2 separate regions of the Homo sapiens genome follow, and region 2 is linked to region 1. The links are contacts of gene promoters, found by promoter capture Hi-C in blood cells and fetal thymus (Javierre and others, 2016). All regions are on one chromosome and are shown on one strand. Each heading gives the region's core, a stretch centred on a gene start or on the middle of the fragment in contact. The rest is flanking DNA. Distances are from core to core; before and after follow the strand shown.

What was found. Contacts are between HindIII fragments. The CHiCAGO score rates a contact against its expected background, and 5 or more counts as called.
Region 2: a contact is called between a fragment that was not itself captured here and the fragment with the promoter of TMEM131 in region 1, in 1 of 17 cell types (neutrophils). The highest score is 6.1, in neutrophils.

Annotation. Positions count from the first base shown.
Region 1 is chr2:97,992,866-97,999,380 of GRCh38, reverse strand. It overlaps TMEM131 (transmembrane protein 131), which reads left to right and starts at 3,433. Exons shown (of 41, transcript NM_015348.2): 1 at 3,433-3,905. The coding sequence starts at 3,719. It overlaps LOC124905591 (a long non-coding RNA gene), which reads right to left and starts at 1,738. Exons shown (of 2, transcript XR_007087148.1): 1 at 487-1,738. RefSeq lists enhancers at 2,724-3,003, 3,174-3,687, 5,320-5,399 and silencers at 3,224-3,473, 3,584-4,143. The HindIII fragment of the contact is 7,821 bases long and covers 1,260-6,515 here.
Region 2 is chr2:98,506,829-98,513,343 of GRCh38, reverse strand. The region is part of intron 1 of INPP4A (inositol polyphosphate-4-phosphatase type I A); the gene reads right to left. Among named protein-coding and RNA genes, the nearest start is that of INPP4A, 65 kb to the right of the region's middle. RefSeq lists enhancers at 4,963-5,022, 5,483-5,542. The HindIII fragment of the contact is 9,429 bases long and covers 1-6,515 here.

The DNA.
Region 1 (6,515 bases), core at 2,184-4,683:
TGGTGACATGAAGTGGGGACCTGAAAGTGTATAGATGGTGTTGAACGGCAGGATACCAGGTGCATTCACCTATGCAGCAAAGGAGATAGAACCCTGGAAAGCCCAACAGTTTACTCCCTCCTAGTTCCAGTTTTAATTCATAGAAGGCATTCTTGCACACCTCCTTAAGTATTTTGTGGAATGAAGTGGAGGTATCAATGGATCAAGGATCTTCGTGCCTAATGTGGTGTTTTGAAAAGAGTGAGTGCTCACTAATAGCTACTTTTGACAGTCTCCTATGTCCCAGACACTAGTCTATATGCTTCACAAACCTATATGCTTAATCTCCCCAAATTTATATCATAATCCCCATTTTTACAGATTAGGAATCTGAGGCCAGAAAAGTCATTTGCTCAGCATCATATAGCTAGTAAAGGCAGGGATGGGATTTAAGTTCAAATTTGTCTGAGTCTCTTATAATTCTGCCTTGAATGGTAAATTACTAACCTGCATAGAGAGCAAAATGAACAGAAAGTGAGGAGTCCCAACAGCTTGTAGCTCCTGGCATATATCACTGTGCAACAGTCTTCAATCTTGAGCCTGTATCAGAATCACTTGGATGCCTTGTTTAAACAGATTGTTGGACCTCAACCCAGAATTCCTGATTCCACAGGTCTGGGATTTGGCCTGCTAATTTGCACTTCTAACAGGTTCCCAGGTGTTGCTGCTACAGCTGGTCTGGGGATGACACCTTGAGAACCACTGGTTTAGCGAGTTTTCCCTGACTCTGCCAGCTAATACCTCCACCTGCCAAATGGCCAGGTCTCTCCAATTTCCAAAAGGGAAAAAGAGAAAAGTTCACAACTAATCAGAACTATTTGAGAGTCCTTAGTGTGATGGTTCCTTCAATTTTAACTCCTGGTTCTCTCCTGAGACACATGAGGGTTGGGGAGTGGGGGTAGAGGATCATAGGGTGATGGTGGCTCCACGCCAGGTTCTCTCTAACACACAGTTTACCATGCTGTCTAGCAAAACGTCTTTCACTGTTAGACTCTCAGTGGCCTCATTGTCCTTTCCTGGGAGGAAAGTTCCATCATCACCCCTCCTGCTCCTAGTGTCCCTCAGGCACAGGGGAGGGTTCAGGTATGGTGGGCCTTAAAAGCCTACCCAACTATTGGGAGGGCTCCTTTAAGAACAAGAATACAGGCTTATAAATACACAATTAGGTTCAGGGACTTGGAAGGAACTTGTGCAAGAGAGGGGGCCCTGCGGCTTAAGCTTCATTAGCTGCATGGGAAATCGAACTCTGATCAAACATGTCTGTATACGTCTAAAGATCCAATTACAGACAGGTGCAAGTTATTTCCCATGGAGCTGCTGAGCCTCAGGCTAACCAGGGGATGTGGCTGATTGCTGTGTAAGAGAACCTCAGCACTTCATGGTTGGAAAGGCTTGTTTGTCCTGAATCTGGCCATGGGGGAAGGGCTGCTGACTTGCAGAGCTAGCACGTTGGAGGCTAAGCAAAAGCGCTCAGTTACATATCCTTGGGTTTGATCTCTTCCGTGAGTCAAAAGCCTTCCAGAAATCTCTTGCCTCAGACATTTTAAACGCCAACTTAAGAGATAATTATTCCTATTTCATTACATCAAAATAAAATTTGACTACTCAATTTTAAGGCTAATATTCAAAAAAGTAAAATTGCTTATGATTAATTTTTTGAGACGGAGTTTTGCTCTTGTCGAGGGTATAGTGCAGTGGCGCTATCTTGGCTCACTGCAACCTCCACCTGCCGGGTTCAAGCGTTTTTCCTGCCTCCGGAGTAGCTGGGATTACAGGCATGCACTACCACGCCCGGCTAATTTTTATATTTTTTAGTAGAGACGGGTTTTCACCATGTTGGCCAGGCTGGTCTCGAACTCCTGACCTCAGGTGATCCGCCCACCTTGGCCTACCAAAGTGCTGGGATTACAGGCGTGAGCCACTGCGCCCTGCCCTAAAATTGCTTTTTAAAATCATTAGGCTAAGGTCATATTTAAATATATATTAATTTATGAATAAATTTAAGTGCTTGCTTGACACAGGGGACTACTTCATAGAGTAGATTCTGGAGTTCCTTTTGTCTTTCTGAAACCTTATTTTCCTATCTAGCTTGTTCTGAGACGTACTGTGGGCAGACTTGGCCTTACACATATATCGACTCACTCAACAAATACAGCTAAGGAAAGTAAAATGTCTCTGGGCTACAAGCTGGGAGGAAGTTACTAAGATGAGTAAAGAAGGACCCCCTCCAAGAGCTTAAATTAAGTCTTGGAGACAACAGCCATGCGCACCAAGAAGCTCAACCTAAGATGAAAAGGGCATCTAAGAGGCGCGAGATGGCTCGTGAAGGTAACAGACGTCTTAAGAATTTTTCCGGGCCCAGCACAGTGGCTCACGCCTGTGATCCCAGCACTCTGGAAGGCCGAGGAAGGCGGACTGCTTGAGCCCAGGAGTTCGAGACCTGCTCGGCCAACATAGTGAGACAGCGTTTCTTAAAAGAAAAAGAAAAATTGGCGTGGCGTGGTGGCGGGTGCCTGTAGTCCCAGACCGCACCACTGCACTCCAGCCTGGGCGGCAGAACCAGACCCTGTCTCAAAAATAAATAAATAATTAAAAAATAAAGAAAAGAAAAAAAAGAATTCTTCCTCGAGAGAGGAAGCCGGCTACTGGATATTCTAAAGAGCAGTCTGTTTGCCCCTGCCTTCTCCATCCAGAGTCACCGACGCTTTCTGCACACGAGGTGTTCCGCGCCAATGTGGGCACAAGCCAAGGCAAGAGGACTCCATCAAGCTCCTCCTGGGTACCATGATTTGGAAGACCCAAGGATGAGTTCAGCGGGCCACCATCCTCAAGGAAGCACCATCAAGAACTGAGTCAGGCCCGGGGTATTCTCGACGTCAAAGCGGTCGAGAGGTGGGGGTGCCACCAGGAAGAGTCACTGGAACGGACCTTCCGCGCTCGTCTCGCGGTCTGTATGCGCACTCACACCCCTGGAAGGCTCTACCACTGTAGGACAGAGCACGGAGGATTGCCCAGGCGCCGGAGAAGAGGTTAGCGCCCCGCAACTCCGCCCCTGCCCCGCCCACGCAACGCGGCGGCTGCGCGGCGAGGCCGCCCCGTCTCCACGTGATTGCCGACACCGCCTCCGCGAAGCAGAAGCCGCCATCATAAGTCCTGGCAGCTGGACCTGGGCCTGCCTCCCTCCTTCTCCTGCGCCAGGTAGCGGTAACGGGCTGGGGTTGTTCTGTCCTGGTTCTGTCTGGCCGTGAAGCCGCAGGCCTCCGAGAGCGGGACGAGGAGGTGGGGCCCAGGGGGCTCCGGGGCGGACAGACTGACCGCCGGACAGCCCAGGTGTCGGCACAGCGTGGGCGGTGCCCAGAGCCGCGCCCCGCCCCTCGCAGGCCAGCGCTCAGGGCTCGCGGGCCGTGCCCGTTTCCAGTATGGCCGCCCGCCGCGCCTGACCCGCGGCCTCTCCGCTCCGACTGCTTGTAGGCGATGCCCAGGCAAAGACCGTGACTGACACTCTCGCTCACACGCACGCACGGACCCAGGCCCACGCTCGGAGATCGAGCCCCGGGCTCGCAACCGTTGTCGCTCCCGGCGCCGCGGCCAGAGCCCGGACCACGGCTTCCGCGCCGCCGCCGCCTCGCCGAGAAGGGCCGCGCCGGACCTCGAGCGCGGCGGCCCCCGGCCGGCAGGGATGGGGAAGCGGGCGGGAGGAGGAGCAACCGGAGCCACCACCGCCGCCGTCTCCACGTCCGCCGGGGCCGGGCTGGAACCTGCGGCCGCCCGTAGCGGGGGCCCGCGGAGCGCGGCCGCCGGCCTCCTAGGCGCGCTGCACCTGGTGATGACCCTCGTAGTGGCTGCGGCGCGGGCCGAGAAGGAAGGTGGGTGTCCCCCGGCGGCGTCCCTGCGGCGGGGCTGTCACCCCGCTCTCGCGGAGGCCGGGAGGGCTGGGCCGGGAGGAAGGGCCGCGGCCGGGGCTCCGGCGCAAAGTTGGGCGGTCGGGTACCGTCCCGAGCCGGGACCTCGCGGCGCCCGCCGCACGGAGTGGCCTTCGCTCTCCGTGATTCCTTCCCGTGCCTTCCCCCGTCTCCTGTCACTGCCATTTCAAAACTTCCTGACTTCTCGTACGTTCTTGCCACTTGGCCCGCTAGGTAGGAGGGGCATATTTTTTGGCTTTATTGCGGCGAATAGGTACATTTTAGGACACTTCTGTTTTCTTGGTTGCGGTTGGTTGCATGCAGACAGAGCTTACTTTAAAATGTGGTAAAAATAGCGAGACACAGCTTAAAAAATTTCACTTTGAATTTGTTCAGACATTTCTTCGAGGGGAAATCTTGGTCCTGTAGCTTCCTCCTTTAGTGTCTCTGCGTTATTGATAACTTTATTATTAGACCTAAATACAATTCCATTTAACTCTTTAGTAAGCTGTTGAAAGCCTGTTTACATTTCTTATTTTAAAATACGTGATTCGGTGCCTTTATCTTTGATGTGAAAGCCTTTAAAAATAAACGTGAAGTTGCCAGCTTGCAAGCATTTATCTATAATTTACAGTTAAGGGCTGGCCCCTATTTTAAAAATCTCATTAGTATTGTACTGCTGCAAAACGGGTACTTGGACAGGGTCAAAAATTATTTTGTAATCTTGAAGACCAAATCAGTGTAATTTCATCTACACTACCTCTTTTTGAGCCAAGGGACATGTGAATGGTCACAGAGCCTTCATGAAGAATTGACTAAGTGAATAGTTTAAAAAAAAAACAAACCACGCAAAACTTGTTAGTTTAGCATTGCACATGAAACTGCCTGTACAAGAAAACAATTTCTTGCCACGGTAATTTTAGAGTTAACATTCTACTTTATGACTAAAGTCACTTGCTTTTTATTGTTGCTGAAGGTGAAAGCAAATACAAACCAAATTAGTATTAAAGTGCAAATGTGCTTCAGTATACTGTTTCTTTTATTTTTGTCCACATTACATTCCCTTATCTAACTCTCTAAGCAACCTTAGTCTGAGTTAACATTGGTGGAAATTATTCAAAGAATTGTCGTCTATAGAAAGGATTAATTGATGGAAGCAAAATTATTTCCAGAATAAAATATTGCCGCTTTAGGACTAGTCGGTCCTGGGGTTGTCATAATACATCATTGGCCACAGATCTGCAGTTAGTTGAGTGTTCTTTCTTATGTGTGATCGTGGCACCTAGCATTTTGGCCTGTAGTGGGTGTTCAGTGAACCCAAAATAGTGCAGTAATTTAATGGACATTTTTTGGGTGGGACTTCAAGTAGACCTTGGTGGGTATTGTGTCCTTGTTTTTCTGTTCCTTTGCTTACCTTGCACAGTGCCAGACACACTGGCGCTTAGCCTTTGAGTGAATGACTGTCTTCATGCGCCCTTAGCACAGGGAATTGAAATAATGGTTGAATCTAGTAAAGCATTAAGTTTGTATTTTCCTTCTACTGCTGCTGATTTTTCCAACAGCCATTTTATATGCTAATAAAAACTTTACTCTGGGTAAAGTTAAGTAAACAAACCTTTTGTTTGAGAACTGTCAGCCTAAAATATATTTGCTAATTTCTCATTTGCATAGTTTATACATGTTAGTGCACCTCTCTAATACCCATAAATGTGTGTAAGGATTGGATGAGGAGAATACTTGCCAGGGTGTTAAGTATGTATTAAAGGGGTGGTTGAATCAGCCAGTGGCCTGGGTGAATCAGATATCCTTTGTGGCCCATGCTTTTCTGTATGAACAATTTGTGTGTGCGGTTATCCAAGATATTAATGGAGATGATGCTGATATAGAACATAGGCCTCTACCCATCATAAACAGATCTGGTTCTAATCAAATATTCTGTGAAGGTATCTCCAGAAATGGCTTCTCCTTTAAAACTGATCATATTCCAGTATTGTTTCTGAGTAAGTAGGGGAAAAGCAATTTATTTTCTTACGTGATTGTGACACTGTGAGTCTGGCATCTGATGAGGCACAAATACAGTATTTGTCCTAAAAGGTACTGTTGAGTTTTTCAGCAAGTTTGGGCAGATTTCTGAAGATGGCTGAGTTCAGTTTGATCATTCACACCCGGAGGAATTTTGTGTCTATTGAAGTAGCATAAACTAGTTTAAAATTTCAAAGTTAAGATTTACCTGCAGTTTTAATGATGATTCTGCAGGTATTTTGTATGTTTGTATTTCTTTTCCTTCATTACTGTATAATTTCACTGCAAAATCTTTAAAAGACAATAAAACTCATTGTCTCCTGAAGAAAAGCTGCAGAAATAAATTACCTAATGTAGTTTTTCATGTTTGGACTTGATGTTGATTTTCTTGAGTCAGAAGCATGGACCATTCCTTGTCTTAACATCCTATATGACTTAACTGAGCTATGGGAGTGTGCTATCACTAGTCCAGAGGAAAGGTACCTTTGAGATGGTTTTGGCTGTGATGTAAAGTTTGTAAGGACTTTGAAAGAGTTTCCAGAGATAGAAGTT
Region 2 (6,515 bases), core at 2,201-4,700, 510 kb before region 1:
CACCAAAACTCATTCTTCCTTAAATATGGCCAACTTGAGGGGGCCGCCCAGGAAGAAGAGGATGTTGAACACTGGAGAAAACTGCCATCTGATGTCAAGTGGGAAGGGGTTGTGGGGTTGGCATGGGTCATAAAAGCAGAAGGACTGATTCTGGGAGGCGATGCAGGAGGAGTTGGGCCTACGATACAGCAGTTGGGGTCCTTGATTCTAATTTGCCCACTTTGGAGACTACTCCAACCCTGGGTGTCCTTCCCCATCCTACGGTGCAAGGGAATAGTGGAAGCAAGCAGGCCTTCCATTTTTTTTTCTTTCAAACAAAAGCCATCTGCTTAGGAAAGATCTTAACCTTTTAAACAAAGTCAAATATGCTTCTCTAGCATAAAATACAAAAACAAAAAATGCTGCCTCAAAGGCCCAGGTATTAACTAGGATGGAAAGGCCACATGCTGCAGGAACACGGACAAGGTGGAGGGGACCTGGGAGGGGTCTCAGGAAGGCCTTCCTCATGCCTCTCGGGGCTCTGGCTCCAAGCCCACCAGGCCCCCAGCACCCTGGTCCACAAAAGGCTCTTGATACAGTTTGAACGTGTTCTCCAAAGTTCCTGTGTTGAAAACTTAATTGTCATTCTAACAGTAGTGGGAGGCGGGGCACTTAAGAGGTGATTAGGACACGAGGACTCTGTCCTCATGAATGGATTAATGCTGTTTCTGTAGGAGTGAGGGGAGTGGATTCCCGATAAATCGGGAGTTTAGCCCGATTTCCTCTCTGTCTCTCATGCTGGCTTCCACCTTCCACTCTTCCACCATGGGAAGACCCTCACCAGATGCGGGCACCATGCTCCAGGACTTCCCAGCCTCCAGACTGTAAGAAATAAGTTGCTTTTCTTTACAAACTACCCAGGCTGTGGTATGTTGTTGGAGTAGCAGAAAATGGATTAAGACAGGTGTCAACACCTGCCCTTCCGCAGACTAAACCCTTGGATCAACCTGTGAGGCCCAGAGTGGGGCCTCAGGAATCCACCCACTTGCTCAGCTAATCCCACTTCAGATCCCTCCTCCCCCATAGGTGAAAGAGCTGCTGAGCTTCTCTCAGCCTCAGTTTCTGTATAACGGAAATAACACTGGTCTCACCAGGACACACTGAGGAGCAAGCACATATGTGAAGAAACACAGAAAACATCCGCATAGAGCTCAGTACATGGGCTGTCAGCCCTGTGAGGTTGTCACCTTGGCATGTGAGGTTCTCACCTTGGCTTTTCCTAACCTCCCCTGAGGCTGGCCCCCACAGCGCTTGTACTGGAGCCATCTGTGAGCCTGGAAGCCCTTTCTCTACAGCTAAGTCTATGTGAGTTTTACCCAACTTTCCTACCTTCTCCAGTTCCTCCAACCGGAACTTTTCACCAAGGTCCACGGTACTTTGCTTGCGCTACAGTTTATAATCACCAAAAATTAGGCCCAAAGGTTGCTATTGAAAAGGAACATGAGAGCACAGGCCTGTTCCTTGAAGCAATATGGCTTGGTGGCATGGGGGAGGGGAGCCCAGGCAATGGCATCAGACCTGGTGAACCGCTGTGAAGCATGTGACCTTCCACAGGGTCCCATCTCTGTGCATCAGTTTCCTCGCCTGTCAAATGAAGTTACGACTACTGTTGGAAGGAATTCAGAGTCTCCCAATCAGAGGAGTGTGAGTGGACCCTGGACTCCCAGGGAAGTGAGGTGGGTGCTCTGTCCCTCCAGGATAGACATCCATGTTCTGAGGGGGCAGCATCATGGTCCTCTTGTACTGAAGAGGTCTGCTTCCTCCTCCCCTCAGAGCTGGGGCCCAGCCCTCTCCCACCTCCCACCTCCCAGCTCTCTATACCTGCACAGGGCAGGAGAGGGTCACTGTGAGTAAAGCTCTGACTCAAAGGACACTTAACACCCAAGCATGCTGCAAAACATCCATCCAACGCTGCTAGGGCTTAAATACAGGAAAGTAATGTGCTTTAGAAAAATCAAGCACAGGGGCCCAGTAATCCCAGCACTTTGGGAGGCCAAGGCAGGCAGATCACAAGGTCAGGAGATCGAGACCATCTTGGCCAACGTGGTGAAACCCCTTTCTACTAAAAATACAAAAAATTAGCTGGGCGTGGTGGCACGTGCCTGTAGTCCCAGCTACTTGGGAGGCTGAGGCAGAAGAATCGCTTTAACCCGGGAGGTGGAGGTTGCAGTGAGCCCAGATCGCACTACTGCACTCCAGCCTGGGCAACAAAGCGAGACTCCATCTCAAAAAAAAAAAAATTGAATCAAGCACAGGAAGAGAAGTAACATGCTGGCAATGCGTATCCCTTCTCACCTGCAGACACAAATGACCTGACTTAGGGCCCCCGAGCTTGTGCTCACTGGGAGATGTTCATTTATCTCTGGCTTTCCATTTCCCAAGCCCTACTGTCTGCCAGTGATGATGGACAGGCAGCAATGGCAATGAGTTAACTTCATTTACTTAACTGACATGCCTCATTAGTTTAATAAATATGCTTACTACTATAATACAGGGCCTGAACCAGAATACAAATGCACATCCCAGACTCCAATGGAGGGAGTCAGTCACTGTGCTACAGTCTGAATGTGTCCCCCAGAATTCCTTATGTTGAAATGTAGCCATCAATGTGATAGTATTAAGAAGCGGGGCCTTTGGGAGGTGATTAGACCCTGAGGGCTCTGGCCTCATAGGTGGGATTAGTGCTGTATGAAAGGGCTGGAGGGAACTAGGTAGGCCCTTTTTGCCCTTCACCTTTTGTCATGTGAGGACATGGCAAGAAGGCCCTCAGCAGACCCTAAATGCCAGCGCCTTCCCAACATCCACAGGTCTAAGAAGTACATTTCTGCTGTTTACCAGTCTCAGTTATTTTGTTATAGCAGCCTGAACTGACTGAGATACCTTGGATAGGGACATGGATATCCCTGTAAACAAGAGGGCAGAGGAGGATGCTCCAGGAGCAGAACAAGCCCAGACCGTTCCAGCCTTCCTCTTTCACCTCACCAGCCCCTCAAGGTTTCCCATCTCAGTAGATGGAGTTCTGTCCTTCCACTTGCTCCAGGCAAGAAATAACATCCTGGCCTCCTCCTCCTCTCACATCCCACATCCAATCCATTGACAACTCTATTAGCTCTATCTTCCCCACAAGTACGACTTCAACTCCCTTAGTACCCCAACTCCCATACCCTGGGAATTTGACCAGCGTCCCTCCCACAGTCCTCACAGTCTGTGTCCAACTGCAATGACGGGGCCTGTGAACCTCCTAGCAGTGTCTTCATCCTGCTCCTGCCCTGGCCTCTTTGCTGTTTAGACTTTTATCTGGTGTGGCCTTTGCATCAGCCACCCTCTCTGGGACTGCCCTTCCTCAGATAACAAGGCAGGCAATTCCCTCACTTCTTTTATGTCCTTCTTGGTTCCCAGCTTCTCCTGGAGTTCTTTGGGACAGCCCAGTTTACAACTGCAGCTCAGCTCCTTGTGGTTCACCCATATACCATGAACGTTCAGGGGATTTTCTGTAAGAAGCAGTTTGAAAATAAGTTGCCCTGAAAAAAGTGCTTTAAAATGTTTGTGCTGAGCAAAACAGGTGCTCACAATCTGGGAGATGAGTGAGATGTGTCAATAATCACAAGCGCAATGTCTGGGAGGTGCCAGGAGCAGCCTGGGGTGGGCGGGGATCTGCCGACTGCCTTCCACACCACACACTTCAGCCACTCTTTCTTCAGCACCTCCAATTTCTTGCTTCTGCACCTCATGCTGTTTCTTCTCTGTAAACTGGCAATCTCTTTAACACAGCAGTCCCCAACCTTATTGACACCAGGGACTGGTTTTGTGGAAGACAATTTTGGGGGGCTGGTCAAGGGGAGTGGTTTCGCGACGAAACTGTTCCACCTCAGATCATCAGGCATTAGTTAGATTCTCATAAGGAGCACGCAACCCAGATCCCTCACATACGCAGTTCACAACAGGGTTTGTGCTCCTACGAGAATCTAATGCCACCGCTGATTGACAAGAAGTGGAGCTCAGGCAGTAATGCCTGCCACTCGCCTCCTGCTGTGCAGCCCAGTTCCTAACAGGCCACAGGCCAGTACTGGTCTGCAGCCCGGGGACTGTGGACTCCTGCTTTAACAAACAGTTGAGGGTCTATTATGGAGCAGGCCTTAGGGATACAAAGATGATAAGAGGCTTGGTCCAGAGCTACATCACAAAGTGTAACAAAGATGAATGGTAGACAACCTGAGGCCCACAATGGTGGGGGCCAAGCCTCTTCTGAAGCCTTCCCTTGGGTGAGGGGCTGGCTTGCTACTCTGTCCTTTCCAGGCAGCGGCACCCCTGGGTTCTGCAGCCAGGGATTCTGGGGCTTTTTCTTGAGGTGAATCAACCCAGTGTTCCCATACATGACCCCTCTCACTCCCGCGCACCAGGCCTCATTCGTCATTTGATTACCACATCAATTTCACAATACCACAGACAAAGACAACAGGAACACTGTACATGGCGGTCTGCTGTCAGAGCTGCGTGGTTAGGACTGCAGTCAGCGTGCACCAGGAGCAGCGCGGTTCTCTCTCCTACAACAGGCAAGGACTTTGACAAGTCTCATTTCTTACTCCATTGTCACTTGAAACCACTTGAAGCCCTCACACAATTAACTGAAAGTTTGCCCGTCTGTTGTCCAGGAAGTCCTTCCAGCGTGTCACATAAATTTCTGAATAAGTGTATGAAAGGACCGAGGAAAGCATCCAGTATTTCAACCCCCTCATCAAAGGAGACATGCTGCTCCAAGAGGGCCGGGAACTGAAGAGATAAGGACACGGGCTTCCCCGTGACCTGTGAGTTGGGCTTATCTCTGAGTGTGGGTCCACAATAAGGGGGGTATCATCACTCACTCAGAGTTGTTACTCAAAGGTTCATTCCAGGAGACGCAGCTGGAAGACTGTGGAGCATGAACCCAGTCTGGCTCCTCTATGGTGGAGGCGGGAGTGCAGGAGGCTCTAAACCCCAAAGCAGGCTGGGTGTGCCTTATTCATTGCCAAAGATGGTGATTTCTCTTCCCTTTTCTTCTTCCACCCAAACACAAAGCTGTCAGGCCTGGCCTGGTGCCTGCTCCTGCTTCCCTTGCCCAGAGCTGGCCACCTGGAAGCTGGACCCTGACTTGCCCCAGCCACTAGAACAGCCTCTAACCCGAGCTCTGCTTCTCTCCTTCTTCCCTTTCAGGAGAGGTGTGGCTGCAGCTGCTCATGGCTTCTCAGGACAGAATGCAAAGTGGGCGGCCCACATCCCAGCCACAGCAATGTCCTTTGCCTTGCCGTACAGTGTTTTGCATTCACCCCATGCCCTCACCACCCACCCCCTCAACCCAGGGGATGCAGTGACGATGCCATCATGGTAAGGACAGTCATGGGAACTCCTGCTAGCCTGGCTAAGACACTATATAGAGCAGCCAGGACGCTGTGCAGGGGGGTGAGCTTAGGCAGAAAGGCGTATTTGTCTCAGGAGTCTGGGCTGAGCTAAACACCTCAGCAGGAACATGGCTGAGCTGGCCCATTGACTCCAAGGCTGGCAGCAAATGTGGCCCTTCCCCTCTGCTTACCCATGTCCATCATCCTCCCACTCTGCAAATGAGCCAGTCCACATGGTGGGAGCTGAGACAGCCCCCAACTTGAAACTCTCCAGCTCCAGCCACCAGAGGCCGCCTGCATGGGTGCTCTCCCAGTTCTCTCCAGCTTGAGCCAGGCCCCCCAGGCTGGGGGTGGGGGTCACGTTGTAGCATGGGGGCTTCAACACTACCCATGAGCTTGGGTGGGAGAAAGCTCCCACAAAGCAGTGGAGCACCACCACCCCTTCAATCCATCACAACTTTCAGTAACCAAATGGAGATTTCCCTACAGCACGTGTTTCTTAAACTTTAAACAGAATGGTCAAATAACTCTCATGTTAACTAGATGGCTTTACATTGTATCAGACACACAACATAAACACATAATTAGTCATAAACTCTTTTGTTTAGAACATTTAAACAATTAGAAAAAAAGTGATCTATAAATTAACACAAGCAAACCCCAACACAAATGAACTCGGGTTTATATTCCTTTAATGTGAGGGATGGGATGGGCTGTTTTACAGAAAGGATCAGTCACGCATAACCTTGACACTACATCCTCTACCGTCACCCAGCCTGAGGCCAGAAATGGCCAGAATGGCCCCTTCAGGGTCCACCCAGCTATTTGGTCAAAACAGCAGTGGCCAGCGGCCACCATTCCACAAAAAAGTGAGTTGCCAAGCAGGGCAGAGGAGGGGGATGTGGCTACACCTCCCTGGACTGTGAACGAGGATCAAAGCACCCCAGACCGCAGACTCTCCAAAATGTCGTTTTCCTCCTCTGAATGAAATCAAGATTGTTTCAGGAAACAAACGCAGCTTTAGGGCTTGCTGTGTGAAAATGCAGCCCTGAAAATGCTGAGTTCCTTTCCTTGACTCCCCCTCCCTGCCACAGGGGAGTG